Regions from separate parts of the Homo sapiens genome. Here all the other regions are linked to region 2. The links are contacts of gene promoters, found by promoter capture Hi-C in blood cells and fetal thymus (Javierre and others, 2016). All regions are on one chromosome and are shown on one strand. Each heading gives the region's core, a stretch centred on a gene start or on the middle of the fragment in contact. The rest is flanking DNA. Distances are from core to core; before and after follow the strand shown. Region 1 overlaps USP32 (ubiquitin specific peptidase 32). Region 2 holds the start of USP32 (ubiquitin specific peptidase 32). Region 3 overlaps PPM1D (protein phosphatase, Mg2+/Mn2+ dependent 1D). Region 4 overlaps APPBP2 (amyloid beta precursor protein binding protein 2). Region 5 overlaps USP32 (ubiquitin specific peptidase 32).

The links. The method cuts DNA at HindIII sites, captures the fragments that hold promoters and counts their contacts. A CHiCAGO score of 5 or more calls a contact.
Region 1: a contact is called between a fragment that was not itself captured here and the fragment with the promoter of USP32 in region 2, in 1 of 17 cell types (endothelial precursors). The highest score is 7.4, in endothelial precursors.
Region 3: a fragment that was not itself captured here is called in contact with the fragment with the promoter of USP32 in region 2 in 1 of 17 cell types (fetal thymus); the score reaches 5.1 in fetal thymus.
Region 4: a fragment that was not itself captured here is called in contact with the fragment with the promoter of USP32 in region 2 in 1 of 17 cell types (fetal thymus); the score reaches 5.9 in fetal thymus.
Region 5: a contact is called between a fragment that was not itself captured here and the fragment with the promoter of USP32 in region 2, in 1 of 17 cell types (endothelial precursors). The highest score is 6.4, in endothelial precursors.

What each region holds. Positions count from the first base shown.
Region 1 is chr17:60,246,440-60,249,139 of GRCh38, reverse strand. The region is part of intron 11 of USP32 (ubiquitin specific peptidase 32); the gene reads left to right. Among named protein-coding and RNA genes, the nearest start is that of CA4, 98 kb to the right of the region's middle. The HindIII fragment of the contact is 1,364 bases long and covers 757-2,120 here.
Region 2 is chr17:60,390,796-60,393,495 of GRCh38, reverse strand. USP32 (ubiquitin specific peptidase 32) reads left to right here and starts at 1,363. Exons shown (of 34, transcript NM_032582.4): 1 at 1,363-1,614. The coding sequence starts at 1,557. RefSeq lists silencers at 893-1,212, 1,323-1,542, 1,573-1,632 and an enhancer at 807-1,648. The HindIII fragment of the contact is 3,969 bases long and covers 1-2,700 here.
Region 3 is chr17:60,603,329-60,606,028 of GRCh38, reverse strand. All of the region lies in intron 1 of PPM1D (protein phosphatase, Mg2+/Mn2+ dependent 1D), which reads right to left. Among named protein-coding and RNA genes, the nearest start is that of PPM1D, 4.5 kb to the right of the region's middle. The HindIII fragment of the contact is 3,887 bases long and covers 1-2,700 here.
Region 4 is chr17:60,523,249-60,525,948 of GRCh38, reverse strand. It overlaps APPBP2 (amyloid beta precursor protein binding protein 2), which reads left to right. Exons shown (of 13, transcript NM_006380.5): 1 at 1-155. The coding sequence starts at 18. Among named protein-coding and RNA genes, the nearest start is that of APPBP2, 1.6 kb to the left of the region's middle. RefSeq lists a silencer at 1-17 and enhancers at 98-367, 88-796. The HindIII fragment of the contact is 1,064 bases long and covers 719-1,782 here.
Region 5 is chr17:60,226,073-60,228,772 of GRCh38, reverse strand. USP32 (ubiquitin specific peptidase 32) reads left to right here. Exons shown (of 34, transcript NM_032582.4): 13 at 2,542-2,700. Among named protein-coding and RNA genes, the nearest start is that of CA4, 77 kb to the right of the region's middle. The HindIII fragment of the contact is 1,896 bases long and covers 354-2,249 here.

The sequences.
Region 1 (2,700 bases), core at 189-2,688, 140 kb after region 2:
CTCTCAGCAGTCATTGGCTGACCAGTAAGTTAGGCTCACCCCAAGAAGGCCAAGCTTAAAAATAAAAACAGATAATAAAAAAGAAAACACGAAGAAACTGAGCAGCTTCACACTGCAAGATACTGTACCGGAAGATAAACTCTACAGAATTGTTCCAGGAAGTCGTAAAACAAAACAAAACACACAGGGGTTCAGAATCCAGAGTTGCTAATATAAAGTATCAAATGTGTTCAGTTTTCAACAAGAAAAAATTATGAGACATGGAATAAAACAGGAAAATGTGACCCATATACGAGGAAAAAACAAAGAATAGTAGAAACTGTCTCAGAGGTGGCAGCAGATGTTCTCCTTAGCACACAAAGACTTCAATACAACTATTGTAAATGTTTTCAAAGAGCTAAACGAAGCTGTATTTAAAGAATTAGAGGAATGTATGATCTCACTGACTTGTCCAAATAGAAAATAGCAATAAATAAATAAAAATTTAAAACAGAATCAAATAGAAATTCTAGCAGATTTGAGTTGACAGAGAAATATTCAGCAAAACAGAATATGGATCAATAGAGATTATTTCATCAGAAAGAGAGAAAGAAGACCAAATAAATGAACAGAGTTTCACAGAAGTTGGAACATGATCAAGTCTACCAAAATATGCATAATGAAAGTCTCAGAAGGAAAGAAAGAAGCAGAAAAAAGTTTGACAAGATAATGTCTGAAAGTTCTAAAATTTCTCGAAAATTATTAATCTTAGAAGCTTAATGAACTCCAACTAGGTTAAACACAGAAAGAATCACACCTAGACATATCATTGTCAAAGTGTTGAAAACTAAAGACAAAGGAAGAAGTTGAAAGCCACAAGAGCAGAAAGACTCATCATGTAGAAGGGAACCACAATGTGATAAACAGCTGACTTTTTGAAACAATAGAGCTCAGTGTGCAGTGATATGAGAAAGTGATATAAGGAAAAAACCAAAAAAGCAAAAACTGTCAATCCAGAATTCTTTATCTAGCAGAACTGTAATTCAGAAATAAAGGTGAATTACTACCTGACTTCAAAATACACTACAAAGCTATAGTAACCAAAACAGCATGGCACTGACATAAGAACAGACAAATAGACCAATGGAACAGAACAGAGAACCCAGAAATAAATCCAGGCCAGGCGTGGTGGCTCACGCCTGTAATCCTAGTGCTTTGGGAGGCTGAGGTAGGTGGATCATGACGTCAGGAGGTTGAGACCATACTGGCTAACGCGGTGAAACCCCGTCTCTACTAAAAATACAAAACAATTATCCAGGTGTGATAGCACATGCCTGTAGTCCCAGCTACTCAGGAGGCTGAGGCAGGAGAATCGCTTGAACTGGGGAGGTGGAGGTTGCAATGAGCCAAGATCACGCCACTGCACTCCAGCCTGGGCAACAGAATGAGACTCTGTCTCAAAAACAAACAAACAAAAAAAAAACCAAAACAAACAAACAAGCAAAACCCCCCACATTTACAACCAACTCTTTTTTGACAAAGATGCCAAGAGCATACATTAGAGAAAGGACAATCTCTTCAATAAATGGTGCTGGAAAAATTGGATATCCACGTGCAGAAGAATGAAACCAGTTCCCAATTTCTTACCATACACTAAAATCAAATCAAAATGGATTAAAGAGGCTGGGCGAGGTGGCTCATGCCTGTAATCCCAGCACTTTGGGAGGCCGAGACGGCTGGATCACCTGAGGCCAGGAGTTCGAGACCAGCCTGACCAACATGGTGAAACCCTATCTCTACTCAAAGTACAAAAACTAGTTGGGTATGGTGGCAGGCGCCTGTAATCCCAGCTACTCAGGAGGCTGAGGTGGGAAAACTGCTTGAAACCGGGAGGTGGAGGTTGCAGTGAGCCGAGATTGCCCCACTGCACTCCAGCCTGGGCTACACAGGGAGACTCCGCCTCAAAAAAAAAAGAAAAGAAAATGGATTCAAAGACTTAAATCTAAGACCTAAACTACTAGACGAAATTGGGGAAATGCTGTAGGACATTTGTCTGAGTGGTATGACACTGTATAATACCTCAAAAGCACAGTCAGCCAAAGCAAAAATGGACAAACAGGATTTCATCAAGTTAAAAAGCTTTACAGCAAAGGAAACAGTCAACAGAGTGAAGAGACAACCAACAGAATAGGAGAAAATATTTGCAAACTATCCATTCATCAAGGTTTTAATAACCAGAATGTATAAAGGCCTCAACTCAATAACAAAAAACCAAATAACCCAATTTAAAAATGGGCAAGTGATCTGAATAGACATTGCTCAAAAAAAGACATACAAATGGCCAGCAGATATATGAAAAAATGCTCAACATCACTAATCATAATCGAAATATCAAAACCACAATGAAATATTATCTCCCAGTTAAAATGGCTATTATAAAAAAGACAAAGAATAACTGATTCTGATGAGGATGTGAAGAAAGGGAAGTGCTAGTACACTATTGATGGGAATGTAAATTAGTACAGTCAATATGGAAAACAGTATGGAGGTGCCCCAATAAACTAAAAATAGATCCACCATATTATCCAGCGATCCCACTGCTGGGTATATATTCAGAAGAAAGGAAATCAGTAAAGCAAAGAGCTATCTACACCCCTGTGTTTATTGCAGCACTACTTACAATAGCCAAGATACAGAATCAACTTAAGTGTCCATCAGTTG
Region 2 (2,700 bases), core at 114-2,613:
CAAACTAAATAAGAGTTGAAAATCAAGGAACTAAATAATAATTCCACTGTACATATACACCCCATTTGGTTTCTCCATTTATGGTTTCCTATAGGTTGTGTTCACCTTTTGGCTCTCGTGAATAATGCTGCTATAAACACGGGGGCACAAATACCTGTTCACATCCCTGCTTTTCATTCTTTGGGAAATGGAGAGGTGGAGTGGGAGAGTCAGTCACATGCTGCCACACCATGAACCTGGAAGGCACGATGCCAAGTGAAATAAGCCAGTCACAAAAGAGAAAGTCTGCAGAGTTCCACTCAGAGGAAATACTTAAGAGTAGTGAAATTGATAGTAGGACAGCGGTTGCCACGGACCAGTGGGAGGGGGATTGGGGAGTTACCGTTTAATAGGCACAGAGTTTCCCTTTTGCAAGATGAAAAACGGTGGGAAATGGGACGTGGCAATGGATGCAAAACAATATCAATGTTCTTAACGCCACTGAACTCACTTAGAAATTGTGAAAATGGTACATTTTGTTACGTATATTTTACCACAGATTAAAACGACTCCACGCTAAGCCTTGTAGCCCTCATGTTTCTCGGGGAGAAACTCTGGGAGAGAGGATAAGCCTTTTGCACAGCGCTTTCCAGAGAATGTGTACAAGAGGCATGGTCAGGAGGAGAAGGTGGGCCGGGCAGGCGAGATGACCCGAAAAGGCAGATCCACTTCGTTAACAAGGTCCACTTTCCTCAGGGATCTCCCGCTAGGTGTGAGCATTCTTTTGTCACAGGAAAGCCTTGAGATTCTCCTTTCCTTTCACAACGCCCTCCCAGTCAAAGACGTCCCTAAGGTTGGGAGCTCCCTGCCTACCCACTCCTTTCTCTTCTGAGCCATATGCCGCATCCCTCAGAACCCCATTCCCTAAGATTCTGCGGTCTTCCATGTTAGGTCCCGGCAACTGCCACACTAACCGTCAGCTGCTCGGACCCCACCCGCCGAACGCCAGAACATGTGGGCGCGGGGGCGGGGGGGGTCGTCCTCAAGCGCCCCGGAAGTCACCACCCCCCGTCGCCAGCGGAGGCGCCCGGGCGGGGCGCGCGGCTGCGATTGGCGGGAAGATGGGACGATGCGTTACGTGCGGAGATGCGTCCCCCTCCCCGGCGCTCCTGCGCGCGGTTAGCTTGGGGAGGGGCGGAGCGTGCGGCCCTGGGCGGCCGTTACCGGGAACAGTGTCTGGCCTCGGGTCCCGTGACCCTCGGCGGAGCTGGCGGGAGGGGGCGGAAGTGGCAAGAGGGCGTGAGGAGGGAAGGAGAGGGAGGAGAGAGAGGAGAGAGAAGGGCGGAGTAGGAGGCAGGGGAAGGGGGCGGGGCGGAAGAGTCACGTGATCCGGCATGGAGGCGGTGGCGGCGACCGGGAGGAGCCGCCGGGGCAGAAGCCGCACTTGTTAGTGTGGGGGGAGGTGGGGGCGGGGGACGCCGACACCGTCACCGTCACCCAGGGACGCCGAGGAGAAGGCGGGAGGGGGGTGGGGGCGAGATCAGGCTCCGACCCCCCGCCGAGGGGATGAGGGGAGCATGGGTGCCAAGGAGTCACGGATCGGATTCCTCAGCTACGAGGAGGCGCTGAGGAGAGGTGAGGGGGGAGGGGTCTGGGCGAGCTGCCTGGGAGGCCCGCGACGGGCAGCCTGGAGGGTGGGTAACCGGGAGGGAGAGGGGAGATTGAGGGCGTGGGGCGCCTGAGGCGGAAGGGAAAGGCGGCCGGCCTTGGGGAGTGTGGTGGAGGAGAGAGGTCGGGTGGGAAGCAGCGTTTGGGAATTAGGGCCGTTTGGAAAGGGGCTTGTCCTGAGAGAGGGGGATCGGCGCTGGCAGGGCAGTGCCCGTGCTCGCTGGTGGCGTTGTGATCCTGGATGTGTCCAGGGAAGTCCTCTCCCCGTTTTCTTGGGCGGCTCCAGCCCATCCAGCCCCCCTCATCCTTCATTGCCATTTTCTCCTATCATTCCTTCATAAAAACCTCAAATAACATCCTAACCTCGTTCCTAACAGCCTTAGCTGGAAGGGGACGAGGAGGCGGCTGCAAAGCGCTCCTCTCTGCTACTGGAAGCCCCTTCGTATCTGGGGAGTCCCTGCCTTTTCCCAGAGCCTATGCCTGTCTCTTGAGGGCTGTGGCCATCCGCTTCTGCCACCCTTCACCGTTTGAGCGGCTGACTTTGATAAGAACGATCTGAAATGAAGTTGTGTTTGAGGTGAGATGAGACTGGACAGCTGGCGTTGGCACCAGACCTTGTCTTAGGTTTCATCTCCTCCGACGTTGACCAAAGCCTTTGACTGCACTTGATGCCCAGTTCTCGCTCCATCCCTCTCCATGAAATGGCATTGGGAAGTCCAGCATTCAGATATTGTGTTAAATCTCCCTTTAGAGACTGGCCTGGCTGCCAGTCCCGGCCTGCTGCTTATTGGCTCTGAGGCACAGTATATTGTTGGCAGCCCCAACCCCCTACCACTCACTCTGATACCGCTGTCCATGATCACTAAAGCACACACTAACTGGAAGTGTCTTGTTGCACAGTTTATGGCCGGAATGTCTTAATTTTTCATGACTGGGATTTCAGTGTGTGTAGATCTGTGTATGCTTGTATTTCTTTTAGACATTTAATGGATATTCTTGGTAAGAAGTGAAAAAACATTAAGAAGATTAGGAGCTAGGCATTATTGTTAACAG
Region 3 (2,700 bases), core at 63-2,562, 210 kb before region 2:
GGGCTGATGAAGTTTTGAAAACTGATAGTGGTGATGGTTGTACAACATTATGAATACACTTAACGCCACTAAATTATATACCTAAAAATGGCTAAAATGGTATAAATTTTATTTATTTATTTATGAGACAGAGTCTCGCGTCTTCTCCCAGGCTGGAGTGCAATGGCGTGATCTCAGCTCACTGCAACCTCTGCCTCCCAGGTTCAAGCAATTCTCCCACCTCAGCCTCCCCAGTAGCTGGGATTACAGGTACACACCACCACGTGCGGCTAATTTTTTTGTATTTTTAATAGAGACTGAGTTTCACCATGTTGGCCAGGCTGATCTCAAACTCCTGACCTTGGGTGATCCGCCCGCCTTGGCCTCCCAAATTGCTGGGATTACAGGCGTGAGCCACCACGCCTGGCCTGGTATAAACTTTATGTTATCTGTATTTTAGCACAATTTTTTAAAAGGAGAAATTTTAATTAAAAAATGGAAGAAAGTCCATTTATTTACTTACACTCAACAGAAATTCAACTAAACTCAACTAGTTGTTGAGCAGCTACTTTGGGCAAGGTATTATGTGGCCAATCCTAAAACAATTAAAGATGAGTAAGGCAGTATCTCTGGCCCCAAAGACCTCAAGATTTAGCTGACAGGCAGATACTATAGCAGACTAGCATCTCCCAGTGGTCTGTGTAATCTTTATAGGGATTCTACAAGGCCAAAACTATTTTCATAATAATTCTAAGAGTTTATTTGCCCTTTTCACTGTGCTGACATTTGTACTGATGGTAGAAAGCAATGGCTGGTAAACTACTGGTACCTTGGCAGGAGTCAAGGCAGTGGCACCAGATTGAGCCATTAGTCACTGCATTCTTCACAGCTACCTAATTACAGTCCAAAAAAAGCAAGCTAGTTTCACTTAAGAATATTCCTGGCCAGGAGTGGTGGCTCATGCCTGTGGGAGGCCGAGGCAGATGGATCACTTGAGGTCAAGAGTTCAAGACCAGCCTGGCCAACATGGCGAAACCCCATCTCTGCTAAAAAAAATACAAAAATTAGCTGGGTATGATGGCACATGCCTGTAGTCCCAGCTACTCAGAAGGCTGAGGCACGAGAATCGCTTGAACCTGAGAGGAGGAGGTTGCAGTGAGCTGAAATTGTGCCACAGCACTCCAGCCTGGGCAATACAGTGAGACTCCGTCTCAAAAAACAAAAACTAAAATTAAAAAAAGAATATCCTTGATGACACAATAAAAATTAATTGTATTAAATCCCAACCCATGAATACCTACTTTTTTCTTCTGTTGCCCAGGCTGAGTGCACAGGCTCCATCATGGTTCACTGTAACCCCACCTCCCAGGCTCAAGCAATCCCTCCATCTCAGCCTCTGGAGTAGCAGAGACTACACGCACATGCTACCATGCCAAGCTAATTTTTTATTTTGTATAGCAACAGGGTCTTGCCATGTTGCCCAGGCTGCATATCTTTTTAATATTCTATATGACAAAAAGGAGACTACATAAACAGGCTTTTGTTACATACTACAGGAAAAGCACCTGTGATTGTCTGAGTCATGTAATGAACTAGCCACATTTTTCATGGACCATCATCTTTACTTGAGAGACTGATAAACTGTGTTAATAAGACTTGGGCATTTGGTGTACATCTTCAACATGAACAAAGTGAGCTTTTCGCTTCAAGAAAAACTGACAGTATTTGTTCTCAATGATACATTTCTAATTGTTGCTTGAAAAATACATTTTGGATAATGTGTATCCACAACAGTGAACTAGATAGCTTCCCAATATTTAAAGAGTTTTCTGATGAGATCAGTGATATTAACAAACATGATTTTCTTTGATATTGTATAATGAAATGTGTTGCTATTCAGAGGACGTTCTTAACTGAGTGAACCATTATTTTCCAAATAACTAATGCACTATGTCACAAAAATCACACATGGATGAGATTCGTTCAAAGTACAAAATAGACCAATGGATCTTAACGTATTAAGTATGAAATTCATTACTAAGGTTTCAAATTCCAATTCAGCAAACTTTAAGAAACTACTTTTCTTCCACCTTTCTCTGGGGGGGAAAATAGCTACCATTTTAGTGCAGAATATCCACAATTATCTGAAAAGACTAATAAAATATTTCTCCTTTTTCCTACTACATATGCATGTGGGGCTGCTATTTCTTTAGATACTTCAACCAAATAGCGCAAGAGATTGAGTGCAGAAGTGGATATGATAATTCAGCTGTCTTTTTTTTTTTTGAGACGGAGTCTCACTCTGTTGCCCAGGCTGGAGTGCAGTGGCCCAATCCCAGCTCACTGCAACCTCCGCCTCGCGGGTTCAAGCAATTCTCTCTGCCTAAGCCTTCTGAGTAACTAGGATCACAGGCATGCACCACCACACCCGGCTAATTTCTGTATTTTTAGTAGAGACAAGGTTTCACCATGTTGGCCAGGCTGGTCTCAAACTCCTGACCTCAGGTGATTCGCCTGCCTTTGTGTCCCAAAGTGCTGGGATTACAGGCGTGCGCCCGGCCATTCAGCTGTCCTCTATTAAGCCAGACATTGAAAGAGGTTTGCAAAATGTAAAACAACCCCACTCCTCCCACCACTATTTCTTATTTGGGGAAAAAAGTGTTTTTTCTTTAAAATATATATATAAACATATAAGTTTGTTTTTAAAGAAATATTTTTAAA
Region 4 (2,700 bases), core at 1-2,500, 130 kb before region 2:
AGGAGGAGGGAAGGAAGATGGCGGCCGTGGAACTAGAGTGGATCCCAGAGACTCTCTATAACACCGCCATCTCCGCTGTCGTGGACAACTACATCCGCTCCCGCCGAGACATCCGCTCCTTGCCCGAGAACATCCAGTTTGATGTTTACTACAAGGTATGCGCCGTGGGCCTCCTCTCTGCTCTCCTCCAGCAACCCCGGGGGCCGCACCCCCTTCCACGTCTGCGAACCCCCGCAGTTAACCCCTCACCCCTTCCGGCAGACTTGCCTCCCGAAACGTCTGGTGCGGTGTCTGCATTGCCAGTGGAGAAGCACCCCATCTCCCTATGCCCTGTCTCTTAAGCTTTGGGGCCTTGAAGTAATCTTGGGGAGTCTTGCTCCCTGTTGGTGTTCCCTTCTACACAGTGGCCCTCTTGGGTAGGCCTTTTGCGTGGACTTACTCTATCGCGCCCCTGTCCCACCTAGTCCTTTCCTTCTAGCCCGTATCTTCAGGATATTTTCCATCCTCTCCTTCCAATTAAGTGTCAGCATCAGCTGGACTTTTTTCCGTGCTCCTCCCCCCACCCATTCCTACTTTCTCATCTCGCCGCCTTCCTTCCCCGAGTGTTTTGGTGTTTTTGCTTCGTGTTCCTTCGTTTCTCCTTTCTTTTCCCAATTGGGAAGGAGTTAGGGATTATTGGAAATAATCTGTGTGTTTTATTTGCATATTCTTTAAAGCTTTGATTTTTTTGTGGGAGAGGAGGGGCTCTATACTTGAATTAGGGATTTTGTGAAAATGGGAGTGCTGATCAACTGTTTGAAGAGGACAGGGAGAGATCTTTACTGAAAGAAAAAAACACTTTAGATTATGTTCCTGTGTTTGAAAGTTGCAATCTTGCAGCATTCTTAAATCACTCCCCCTCAAAAATCTGAACAGCAAGTCTCCCAAGCCACTCTCCAAGGAGTTTCAAGGGTAAGTGTCCTTAGATGTGGACTATTTTTGCAGTGTTTTCAGAGTGTGGAGAACTTTATGGACTCAGAGCCTGCCCTTTTCTCTCCCCCACATTTGAATGTGAACACTGGATTTATTATTCAGTCTTCCTTGTCTTGAATCCGCGTCGATAACTCCTAGTGTCCAGTAGCCACCCATGCAAAATGTGACTAAAAGTAGAATGTAATTTATTTTTTAGACCTTAAATACTTCCTCTTGATCTGTAAGTTGGCTGGAACAGTGTAAACTGATATTTTAACAGATGTTTATGTTCTTACGTATGTACAGTGTTTTGTGGCAGTTGTTTTATTGGGAAGATTGCCTGCTTTCTCCACCCCTAGATTTTTTTTTTTTTTTTTTTTTTTTTTTCAGAATTAGCAGTTGATGGGCTGCGTTCTACTAAATCCAGCTGCTTTGCACCAATTCTAACAATTAAAGTGGGGTTTCCCCCCTAAATATTTGGAGAAGATTCATTTAGGTCATGCGTATTATTATTTTGGATTTCGAGAAAAAGCTCCCTTTTTTCCTAATCCCTTTGATACATTGATTTACTTTTGTGTATTCTAAGGAAATTTTGTTCATTTAAGATACATTCCTCCCCAGGAAGGACAAATTAGATTTGTCTTTCTCAGCCTGGGAAACTGCAGCTTTGTGTGTGCTCTCTGTCCATTTTATTAAATCATGTGTAATCTTGTACCTCATATGTAATCTCTCAGAGGAAATCATTGGGAATGTAATCCAAGTGTATTTACTAGTTGAATTCGTTCAAAATACTTGAATATCTTTTAGTAACTTTCACTTCTAATTGAAGCTTTTCATTTGAAGATTATTAGTATGAATAGATGGTGCTTTTGTTAGAATTTCTGTTTCACATAGTTCACACAGTTTTAATATTGCTCCTTTTTGGTACACTTTTACTTCTTAATAGTTGTATGCTTATTGGGAGTATGGCACTGTGCTAAGATGAGGGAAGTGTTAAACATGTGCCTGTAACTATGTTGTGCTTTTATGTGTTATTTTGTTTAATCTTCAGAATTAAACTGTGAAGTAGAGTACAGTATAACCTTGCTTTATTGGTGAGAAAGTTAAGTAATTTAATTAAGGTCTCAAACCTGATATTTAGTTCCTGAGTTCCTTGCTCTTTTACTTAGATATCTATCTTAAGATAGTAGATTATTTTAATGAAAGATATTATAACACTAATTTTTTTATTAGCTTCTATGGAAGTGGAGTGAAAGTCAGTCCCAGGACTCTATTCTAATCTTTAATGGAGATGTAAGAAGAAATTATTCTTTTTATTAAAATTTAAAAAAAATAGAGATGGGGTCTCGCTGTTTTGCCCAAGCTGGTCTTGAACTCCTGGGCTCAAGCTATCCTCCTGCCTCAGCCTACTGAGTAGCTGAGACTACAGGCATATGCCACCGCACCTGACTTTTCTTCCTTTTAAACACTATTAGCATATACATATAAGAAACTTTTTTTGTGGAGACAGGATCTTGCTCTGTTGCCCAGGCTGGAGTGCAGTTGTGATCATAGCTCACCGCAACCTTGAACCCCTGGGCTTAAGCAGTCTTTCCATCTCAGCCTCCTGAGTAGCTGGAACTACAGGTGTATGCCACCCATGCCTAGCTAATTTTTTTTTTTTTAATTTTTAGTATAGATGAGGTCTTGATATATTGCCCAGGCTGGAAAAACTTTTTAAAGCAATATAACTGCACACATAAATATAAG
Region 5 (2,700 bases), core at 52-2,551, 160 kb after region 2:
AACTCACTTCAACCTCCACCCCCTGGGTTGAGGCCATCCTCCCACCTCAGCCTCTCAAGTTACTGGGGACTAAAGGTGCACACCACCATGCCCCACTATTTTTTTTTAATATTTTTTTGTAAAGACGGGATCTATCCACGTTGCTCGGGCTGGTCTCCAACTCTCCTGAGCTCAAGTGATCCAGCCACCTTGGCTCCCAAAGTGCAGGGATTACAGACATGAGCCACCATCCCTGGCCAAAACTTGTTTTAATTAAAAAAAAAAAAAAAAAGAAAAAGAAAAAAGAAACCTAATTTAAATGTCATGTATTTTGTGTTGGTATGAATTCCATATTAGAAAAGCTGTGAGAAGCTTGATATTATCTTTAAGAAAATTAACACTTAGGACTAATTTATACTTCTTTTTTGACATAGATCATTTTGGTTCTACTGTCTTGTCTACAGGATTTTGGTTTCTAGGCCAGGCACAGTGGGTCACGCCTGTAATCCCAGCACACTGGGAGGCCAAGGCAGGTGGATCACTTGTGTTCAGGAGTTTGAGGCCAGCATGGTGAAACCCTGTCTCTATTAAAAATACATAAATTAGCTGTGTGTGGTGGCAGGTGCCTGTAGTTCCAGCTACTCAGGAGGCTGAGGCAGGAGAATCATTTGAAGCTAGAGGCGGAGGTTGCTGTGAGCCGAGACTGCACCACTGACCTCCAGCCTGGGCGACAGAGCTTGACTCTGTCTCAAAAAAAAAAAAAGAATTTTGACTACTTTGGTGAACCATCTAAATTTTAAAAATTGATGGTCCAAAATTCATATGTAATATAGATTCCTACTTCTTAATCATTTTTTTAAACTATGGTCACCATTTTTCTCATGTAATGCCATACAGTTAACTTACATAAATAATTATGCCATTTTTACTTAAAATTTAAAAAAATTTTTTGGCTACTAAAGTGAAGCAGTGGTAACAGACAAGGAACAAAGAAATTTATAACTGTTTGTGATTAATTAGTTATTTAATCATATTTTCAAAGGAAACTTTATATCACTACTTTAAGTAGAAAACTTATGTCCACTGGGCACAGTGGCTCACGCCTTTAATCCTAGCCCTTTGGGAGGCCCAGGCAGGAGTATTGCTTGAGGCCGGGAGTTCAAGACTGACCTAGCCAACATAGCGAGACCCTGTCTCAAAAAAAAAAAAAAGAAAAGAAAAACTGAATGGGCATGGTGGCTCACGCCTGTAATTCCAGCACTTTGGGAGGCCCAGGCGGGCAGATAACCTGAGGTCAGGAATTCAAGACCAGCCTGGCCAGTATGGTGAAACCCTATCTCTATGAAAACTACAAAAATTATCTGGGCTTGGTGGCATGCACCTGTAATTCCAGTTACTCGGGAGGCTGAGGCAGGAGAATCTCCTGAACCTGGGAGGTGGAGGTTGCAGTGACCCGAGATCACGCCACTGCACTCTAGCCTGGGTGACAGAGTAAGACTCCGTCTCAAAAAAAAAAAAAAAAGAAAAAAAGAAAAGAAAACTAGTGTCGCTTGCCAGAAATAGAAGGCAATAATATTATTAAATTCCAGCTAATAGTGTTGCCTTTTGAAGACTCTGCTATTTAGGATTGTTCTCTCTTTGTTAAAAAGAGAAATAGAGAAAATATGAAATGTTAGATTAGCATATTAGCACTATATAAACAATACAATGTTTGGTGAAAGAAAAAAATATGATTTTTTTTTTTTTTTTTTTTTTTGAGACAGAGTCTCACTCTGTTGCCTAGGCTGGAGTACAGTGGCGCAATCTCAGCTTACTGCAACCTCCCGGGTTCAAGTGATTCTCTTGCCTCAGCCTCCCGAGTAGCTGGGATTACAGGAGCCCTCCACCACCCCCAGCTAATTTTTGTATTTTTAGTAGAGATGGGATTTCACCATTTTGGCCTCCTGACCTCAAGTGATCCATCTGCCTCGGTCTCCCAAAGTGCTGGGATTAAAGGTGTGTTCAGTTATTGTAGAAGGTCACATAGGTATAAGTCATAGCATTGCCCTTCACTCTATGTACATACACCACTCATCTTTTACATATATACATATTTTTCAGTCATAAGAACTAAAACACAGTTATTGCTAAATGATGGAATCTGAGTACATGTGATATTTTCTTCATGTTTTCTATATTTTCTACATTGACCATGTAATCTTTAATAATAAAAAAATTATATACATTCATGTACTATGGGAAATAAGGAAGAAAAGAAAAAAATTTAAGCTTTATTTACTTTTAATGTTAAAAAAATGGCTGCCAACAGAATAGAGTGTAAATTACTTTATGTGGCACAAAATCCTTCACAGTCTGTTTTGTCTACCTTGCCAATTTTATCTATATACATACTTTTCCTCCTGAAAGAGATTAAAATATAGCTATGTATTAGAATGTTTTTAAATGTCTGTGGCCAACCACAGGAGACTTAAAAAAATAGATAATTGTGAGATTTGTTTCTGAAGACTACATAGTTGTCAGATTATAAACTTTGCTTCTTATTCTCTGATTTCCTGATTTTAGGATGCCAACCCTGTGGTAATTGAGCCATCATCTGTTTTGAATGGAGGAAAATACTCATTTGGAACTGCAGCCCATCCTATGGAGCAGGTCGAAGATAGAATTGGAAGCAGCCTCAGTTACGTGAATACTACAGAAGAGAAATTTTCAGACAACATTTCT